2 separate regions of the Homo sapiens genome follow, and region 1 is linked to region 2. The links are contacts of gene promoters, found by promoter capture Hi-C in blood cells and fetal thymus (Javierre and others, 2016). All regions are on one chromosome and are shown on one strand. Each heading gives the region's core, a stretch centred on a gene start or on the middle of the fragment in contact. The rest is flanking DNA. Distances are from core to core; before and after follow the strand shown. Region 1 holds the start of MRPL42 (mitochondrial ribosomal protein L42). Region 2 holds the start of NR2C1 (nuclear receptor subfamily 2 group C member 1).

The links. Contacts are between HindIII fragments. The CHiCAGO score rates a contact against its expected background, and 5 or more counts as called.
Region 1: a contact is called between the fragment with the promoter of MRPL42 here and the fragment with the promoter of NR2C1 in region 2, in 1 of 17 cell types (total CD8 T cells). The highest score is 5.1, in total CD8 T cells.

Annotation. Positions count from the first base shown.
Region 1 is chr12:93,465,532-93,468,815 of GRCh38, reverse strand. It overlaps MRPL42 (mitochondrial ribosomal protein L42), which reads right to left and starts at 1,302. Exons shown (of 6, transcript NM_014050.4): 1 at 1,262-1,302. RefSeq lists enhancers at 1,081-1,350, 1,411-1,470. The HindIII fragment of the contact is 2,939 bases long and covers 1-1,521 here.
Region 2 is chr12:95,072,291-95,075,502 of GRCh38, reverse strand. NR2C1 (nuclear receptor subfamily 2 group C member 1) reads left to right here and starts at 1,885. Exons shown (of 14, transcript NM_003297.4): 1 at 1,885-2,123. RefSeq lists enhancers at 1,788-2,107, 1,798-2,298 and a silencer at 2,188-2,467. The HindIII fragment of the contact is 1,017 bases long and covers 1,442-2,458 here.

The sequences.
Region 1 (3,284 bases), core at 53-2,552, 1.6 Mb after region 2:
ACAAGATACTACATCATTTACAGTACTATCCTGTTTCTGATTAAATGAAATAGTTGTCTGCCCTGAGCCATTAATAATAATAATAATAATAAAGAAATATCAAACAAGGCCTATCCTTAGCCTATTACTCAATTGGAGGAACTCATAAATGCCCTCAAGTCCCAGATAAAATTTCACCATCTTATATGTGTACAAAGTCTTTAACTTTCCAACGTACTTTCACCACCATTTCATTTTGCTCTCGTATTAATCATGTGAGGTATCTTTATTCTGATTCATGAAGAAACTAAAGTACAAAATTTAAACGTCTTGCTTCCAAGGACTTTAGAGTCAGTCACTGCCAAATTGGGAAACTTTAAACAAGTCATTAACTAAACGATCCTCAGTTTCTCCAATGACAAAATGGGGAAAACCACAATCTTCATGGCCTGTTGTGAATAAATGACAAATAACCATTGTTAAATCTTGTTTTTAATAGTCTTCAATGAGTATCCGTGCCCTTCCCCCCAATAGTGATAAAAGAGAATTAGGACACAGGCCCTCTTATTTGCTAGTCTAAACCACTCACACTGATACCTTGCACTGCCAGTACATTAACACCGTTAACCCTGAGCTCATAGGTGTGCTTTTTAGTTTACAACCCACTTTCATATACAATATGTGCTCTGACTTTCACAAGTGTGTGAAGCAGCATCTCCATTTCAGATTAAGAACAAAGGCTCAGAGAGGTCAATCGATTACTTGCTCAGTATATCGCTGCTTAATACATGCGTGGGACGTAAACCCATGACTTCTGACCACGAATAAAACATCTTGGGGGAAATTAGGTCCCCTCTGTCCGAAGCCCAGAGAAAAGCACGCCCTGCTGGGAGTCAGATTATTCACCCCAGGAAGATCATTTCAGAGATCAAGTCCCTCAGCCCGGAATTCAACCCCAAAACAAAAGCTACAGAGCCTCTGAGGGTCAGAGGTTTGAGGAACAGGCTACCAAGAGCACCAGAACTCTTCGACCTAAAGGAGTCCCTAGAGCCACAAGCTGCATCACCTCCCCACGGGCGTCCGCCAGGGAACAAAGGGGGCGCTATAAGAAACGCGCAGCCACATGCCGGCTCTTCTGCAGGAAGGACAAAGGCTGGGGATGCAGGCAACCTCGCCCTGCCGGGAACGACAGGCGGGAGACCTCTACAACTGCCGACCAACACTGTGGGACTGCCCAGTTTCGAGGAAGTCCTCGACAGGAGGAGTAGAGGGAAGCGGTTACCTTGACGGCTTCTCACCACGAACCCGCCATCTTGTTTCAATCCTGGTCCCACGAAACAGCGCTGCGCGCGCCGTCCCAGCCCGCGGGGCATTCTGGGAAATGTAGTCTCCGCGGGAAAGCGGCCCGGGTGCAGAGAGAAAGGGAGGATTGTTGCTATGGACTTTTACCTTTAGTTGGGGAAGCGTGGCCGCAGTGTTACTAAGGTGCCCAGAAAAACAAAATCACTGCCCCAAACACATACCCTTAGAAAGTAACAAGCTTTTTTTTTTTTTTTTTTTTGTGAGGCAGTCTCATTCTGTCACCCAGACTGGAGTGCAATGGCTCCCTCACGGCTCACTGCAGCCTCTACCTCCTGGGCCCAAGAGAGCCTCCCACCTCAGCCTCCTGAGTAGCTGGTACTACAGGCGCACACCACCACACCCAGCTAATTTTTTAATATTTTTGTAGAGACGAGGTCTCGGTATGTTGCCCAGGCTTGTCTCAAGCAATCCTCCTGCCTCGGCGTCCCAAAGTGCTGGAATTACAGGCATGAGCCACCATGCAAACCTATAAGTACTTTTTAAAAAAATTATGTTAATATTCAGAGAAATCGTAGATTGCTCTTTAGTAGATGAGTTAAAGTTTCCCAGGGGAAGAGACATTCCAGAGAAGCCCTGAAATGTGGAGGCTAGGATTTGGACGTTTGAAATCAGAACCTGAAGAGAACCTCCACTCTGAAAACCTGGCACTGTGCCCTCAGAACTGTGCTGGCTACCTATTATGGGAGGAAGTAAATATGCAGAATCTTGGACCTCGCTTTCCATCTTAGGAGGAAGGAAAGACCTCTGGGCCTTTGCACTCTCTGTTCCCATTGCCAGCAATGTGCTTCTCTGACCTCTTCTCATGACCTTACAGGTCTTTCTCAAATATCATCTTAGAAAGGACCACACCATTAAAATAGCCTCACCCACCCTTATTCCATGCCCCGCTTTATTTTCCTTCAGAATATTTACCATTACCTGACTTTATATTGATTATTTGTTTGCTCGTTGAATGTCTCTTTCTTTTTTTTTTTTTTTTTGAGACGGAGTCTTGCTCTATCGCCCAGGCCGGAGTGCAGTGGCATGATCTCAGCTCACTGCAACCTCCGCCTCTCAGCTTCAAGCGATTCTCCTGCCTCAGCTTCCTAATTAGCTGGGATTACAGGTGGCCACCACCACGCCCAGCTAATTTCTGTATTTTTAGTAGAGATGGGGTTTCGCCATGTTTGCCCGGCTGATCTCGAACTCCTTACCTCAGGTGATATGCCCACCTCGGCCTCTCAAAGGGCTGGATTACAGGCGTGAGCCACCACACCCAACCTCGTTTAATGTCTCTTATGCTGGATAATGTAAGCTCCTTGAAGACAGAGACATATGTCTATCTTGTTCTTCACTGTATGCAAACCCAGCATCTCAGACTGTGCTTGGTCTCATTATAGGTCTCCAGGAAGTGTTTGCTGAATGAATGAAAAGACTAGATAACGCTGCAAGTATCCAAGACAGTAGATGATTGGCTGGTAAAGCAGAAGCGGTCGCCTGGAAATTCCCTTCTCCCATGATTTGCAAAATTTTGCTTTTGTATATTTTTCTAAGAAATAATCTATAGCTTTTATTATGTATTCCAGGGAATTGATAAACCCCTCAACAAGTTAAGAACCATATTCCTGAAGTGACTAGTATTGAAAGTAAGTGAACACACATCACATAGTAAAGAAAACTAAATACGGGCTGTGTAGTGTGTCTCCTCATTTCCCACGGAATATCAGGAGGCTAATCTTTGCTCTTATAGAAGCCCACAGAGGGCCCATCTGTGTCCTTTCCAGTCGTGTCCATCCTCCAAAGCCACCCATGATGTCTTTCTGGACTGTGCAATAGGAAGGGACAGAGAGGAGAAACAGATTTGAATGAGCAGTCAACTGGACTGGTTGAACATTCCCTGCGTAAAGTGTAAGAAGAATGGATCAAAGATAATTCCAGAGGTCAAGTCTTGATGGCTGTGAGCA
Region 2 (3,212 bases), core at 636-3,135:
CCCTGACGTGACTATACTTTCATAATTTTCACCTTTGGGACCAGCTTATGGTATTGGCAGGGGTCTCCCTTAAAACCAAACCAAATACACAACAAATAATGCTAAAAGGTAGAGGTTGGAAAAAAAAAAAAGTTTCACTCTCGCCCAGGCTGGAATGCAATGGTGCCAACACTGGACCAGACTCCTGGGCTTAAGCAATCCTCCCACCTCAGCCTCCTCAGTAACTAGGAATACAGGCCTGCACCACCATGCCTTTTTTTTTTCTTTTTTTTTTAAGAGATGGAGTCTCACTATGTTGCCCAGGCTGGTCTCAAACTCCTGGCATCAAGCAAGCCTCCTACCTCAGCCTCCCAAGGCTCTGGGGGCAGAAGCCACTGTGCTCAGCAGAGGTGGATTTTTAATGAGGGATAAAGCATATTTTTACTTGTTAGGGATTGTTTCATGCCTTGATCTCTGTCCGTCTGCCTAGTTCCAGAGAGAAATAACAGAGATGTTCTCATTCCCAGCAAACGTTTGTTTTTCCTTCCTTGGATTTCTGCCCTGAGTTTGTGGCTGCTTTCCTACAGTGCCGACCTAAGCTAGATAAAATAGAAATTTCATGACAAAACAAAGGAGATTTAAAAAAAAACTAGAAATTTCAAGAATGCTTCAAAATCTAAAGCGCAGAGTACTTTGCACACAGGGCAGTTATTCCTGCCACACCTTGCCACTACAGGTGGCCACTGTCAGAATGCGATGTTCCACCAATGTCTCTTCATTTCACAATTTGAAAAATTTTTTTTGTGGAGGCAGGGTTTTGTTATCTTGCCCAAGCCGGTCTCCAACTGCTGGCCCCAAGTGATCTTTCCTTGGCCTCCCAGCAGCCACTTGCCTGGCTTTCATTTCATACATCATTATTGAATAGCAGGCATTGTCCTATGTGCTTGGTAATACATCACTGAGCAAAACAGACAAAAAACGGCCATTGAGGATAATCCTCAATATATAATAATATATATATTATAGAGAGGATGTGGAATATACATATATATGTGTGTGTGTATATATAGAGAGAGAGAGAAAGACTCATTGTGTCACCCAGGCTGGAGTGCGGTGGTGTGATCTTGGCTCACTGCCGTCTTGACTCAGGTGATCCTCCCACCTCAGCCTCCAAGTAATTGGGACGACAGGCACGCGCCACCAGGACTGGCTAATTTTTTTGTAGAGACGGGTTTTCGCCATGTTGGCCAGGCTGGCCTCAAACAACCGGGCTCAAGTGATCCGTCCGCCTCGGCCTCCCAACTTGCTGGGATTACAGGCGTGAGCTACCGTGCCCAGTCTCTAGTGATTATATTCTTGCCCTGTTTAGCCATTATGTCTCTTTACTCACAACAGTTTATAAGTGAAACTTTGCCTTACCATTTGCATGAGTCGGCCTCAGCTTGTCATTATATATAAAGCTTACTAATGTAAATGACGAGTTAATGGGTGCAGCACACCAACATGGCACATGTATACATATGTAACGAACCTGCACGTTGTGTACATGTACTCTAGAACTTAAAGTGTAATACAAAAAAAAAAAAGTTTAAATATGATTGGACTCTACCCCAGAGCCCAGTTTTCCAGAAATTAGAAACAGATATGCCTAAGACCCAGAGGGTTATTTATTACTCAAATCTAAAACGTTGACTCAAAACCTCCCCTAATGCCCACCTTTGGCAAACGATGCTTAAACCTTTGCACGTGGCTTCAAAAATTACCTGGCTGGGAACGCGTAGCTCTGGCGGGGCACTCTGCCTCCAAGCCAAAAGGGGGCAGTGGACTCACAGAGCCGCTGCTCGGCCCTCCGATCCCTCCACCCCACCCTGGGAACGTCACGACCTCCTCTCGCCGCTTCTCCCCGTTGCTAATGCGCAGGCGCTGGCGGGATAGCGCGCCGCCGAGCCGAGAAAGAGGTCACGAACTCTGACCCCCCAGAAATACCCAAACACAGAAAGCTCTCTCCGCCGTGAATCTCGATCCCACATCCCGTCGGCTTTCTTCAACCTCTCTTCCCGGAGCGCCCCCCAATCCACGAGTGGCAGCCGCGGGACTGTCGCGTCGGCGCCCGACGCCGGAGTCAGCAGGGCGCAAAAGCGCCGGTAAGAAACGCTGGGTGGGGACACCAGCGACCGCGTCGGGGGCGGGGGCCAGGGGGTGCCCTTCACCCCAACCGCCAACGGACGCGGTCCCAGCGCATCCCCCGGCCGGCGTCCTGCGGCCAGCGGAGCCGTTCAGTTTGGGAGCGCCGCTTGGGGCTGCTCGACTTCGGCTGGGAGCGCGGAGCTGCGGCGCCAAATGCGCGGGGCCCCGGGAGAGGCGGGGGCGACAGGGGCGGCGGGACGCGGGGCCGGACGGCGAGCGGCTTGGAGCACACAACCCCCTTTCCAGCTGCGCTTACCGCAGCGCCTCTGACCTTTAACCTGCAGGGAAAGCTTCCGCGGCGCTGCAGCTTTCCCCGCCCGGGAGAGCCGCGCGCAGCGCCGGGGCTTCCAGGGCGCACGGCTAACGCCGGCACGAGTGAGACGTGGGAGAGGCCGACCCTCGGCTAGTGGCCGCAAGTCCCGGCCTGCATCCCGTCACTAACTCCCGTGCTTTCACGGGACGGACAGAATGACTCCCCCCACTTTCACTTTTCTCTCACGGCAAATCTGGCCAGGGTCGTCGCTGCCTGTGGGCCTGGATCTTTTCAGAAGAAATGGAACGGCCCCAGGGTTCTCACTGCAGGGGGCATGTCCAAGCTTCCGATAGATAGCTCTTTTGTTAAGAAATAATTCTTCCAACTCGGGCAGATACCATTTTTGTGCAGTACGAATGTTGCCAGGTTGTCCCATAATCTTCAGTAAGTAGGTCAGCCTTTAAAAAAGTAACCGGAAAGCAAAAGCAGAAAGACCTAAAATTACGGCCTTTAGGGTTTAGTACCGCTAGAATTTGTAAATGGACCTTCGATTTTGAGCTTTTTTGAACCATTTCTGCTGTGTGGTTGGTGATACTCGATTTTTTTTTCTTTTTTTTTTTTTTTTTTTGAGAGGGAGAGGGAGTCTCACTGTCGCCAAGCTGGAGTGCGGTGGCGCGATCTCGGCTCACTGCAACCTCCGCCTCCAGGTTCAAGCGATTCTCCTGTCTCAGCCTCCCGAGTAGCTGGGATTACAGACACGAGCCACCACACCCAGCTAGTTTTTTTGTTTTTG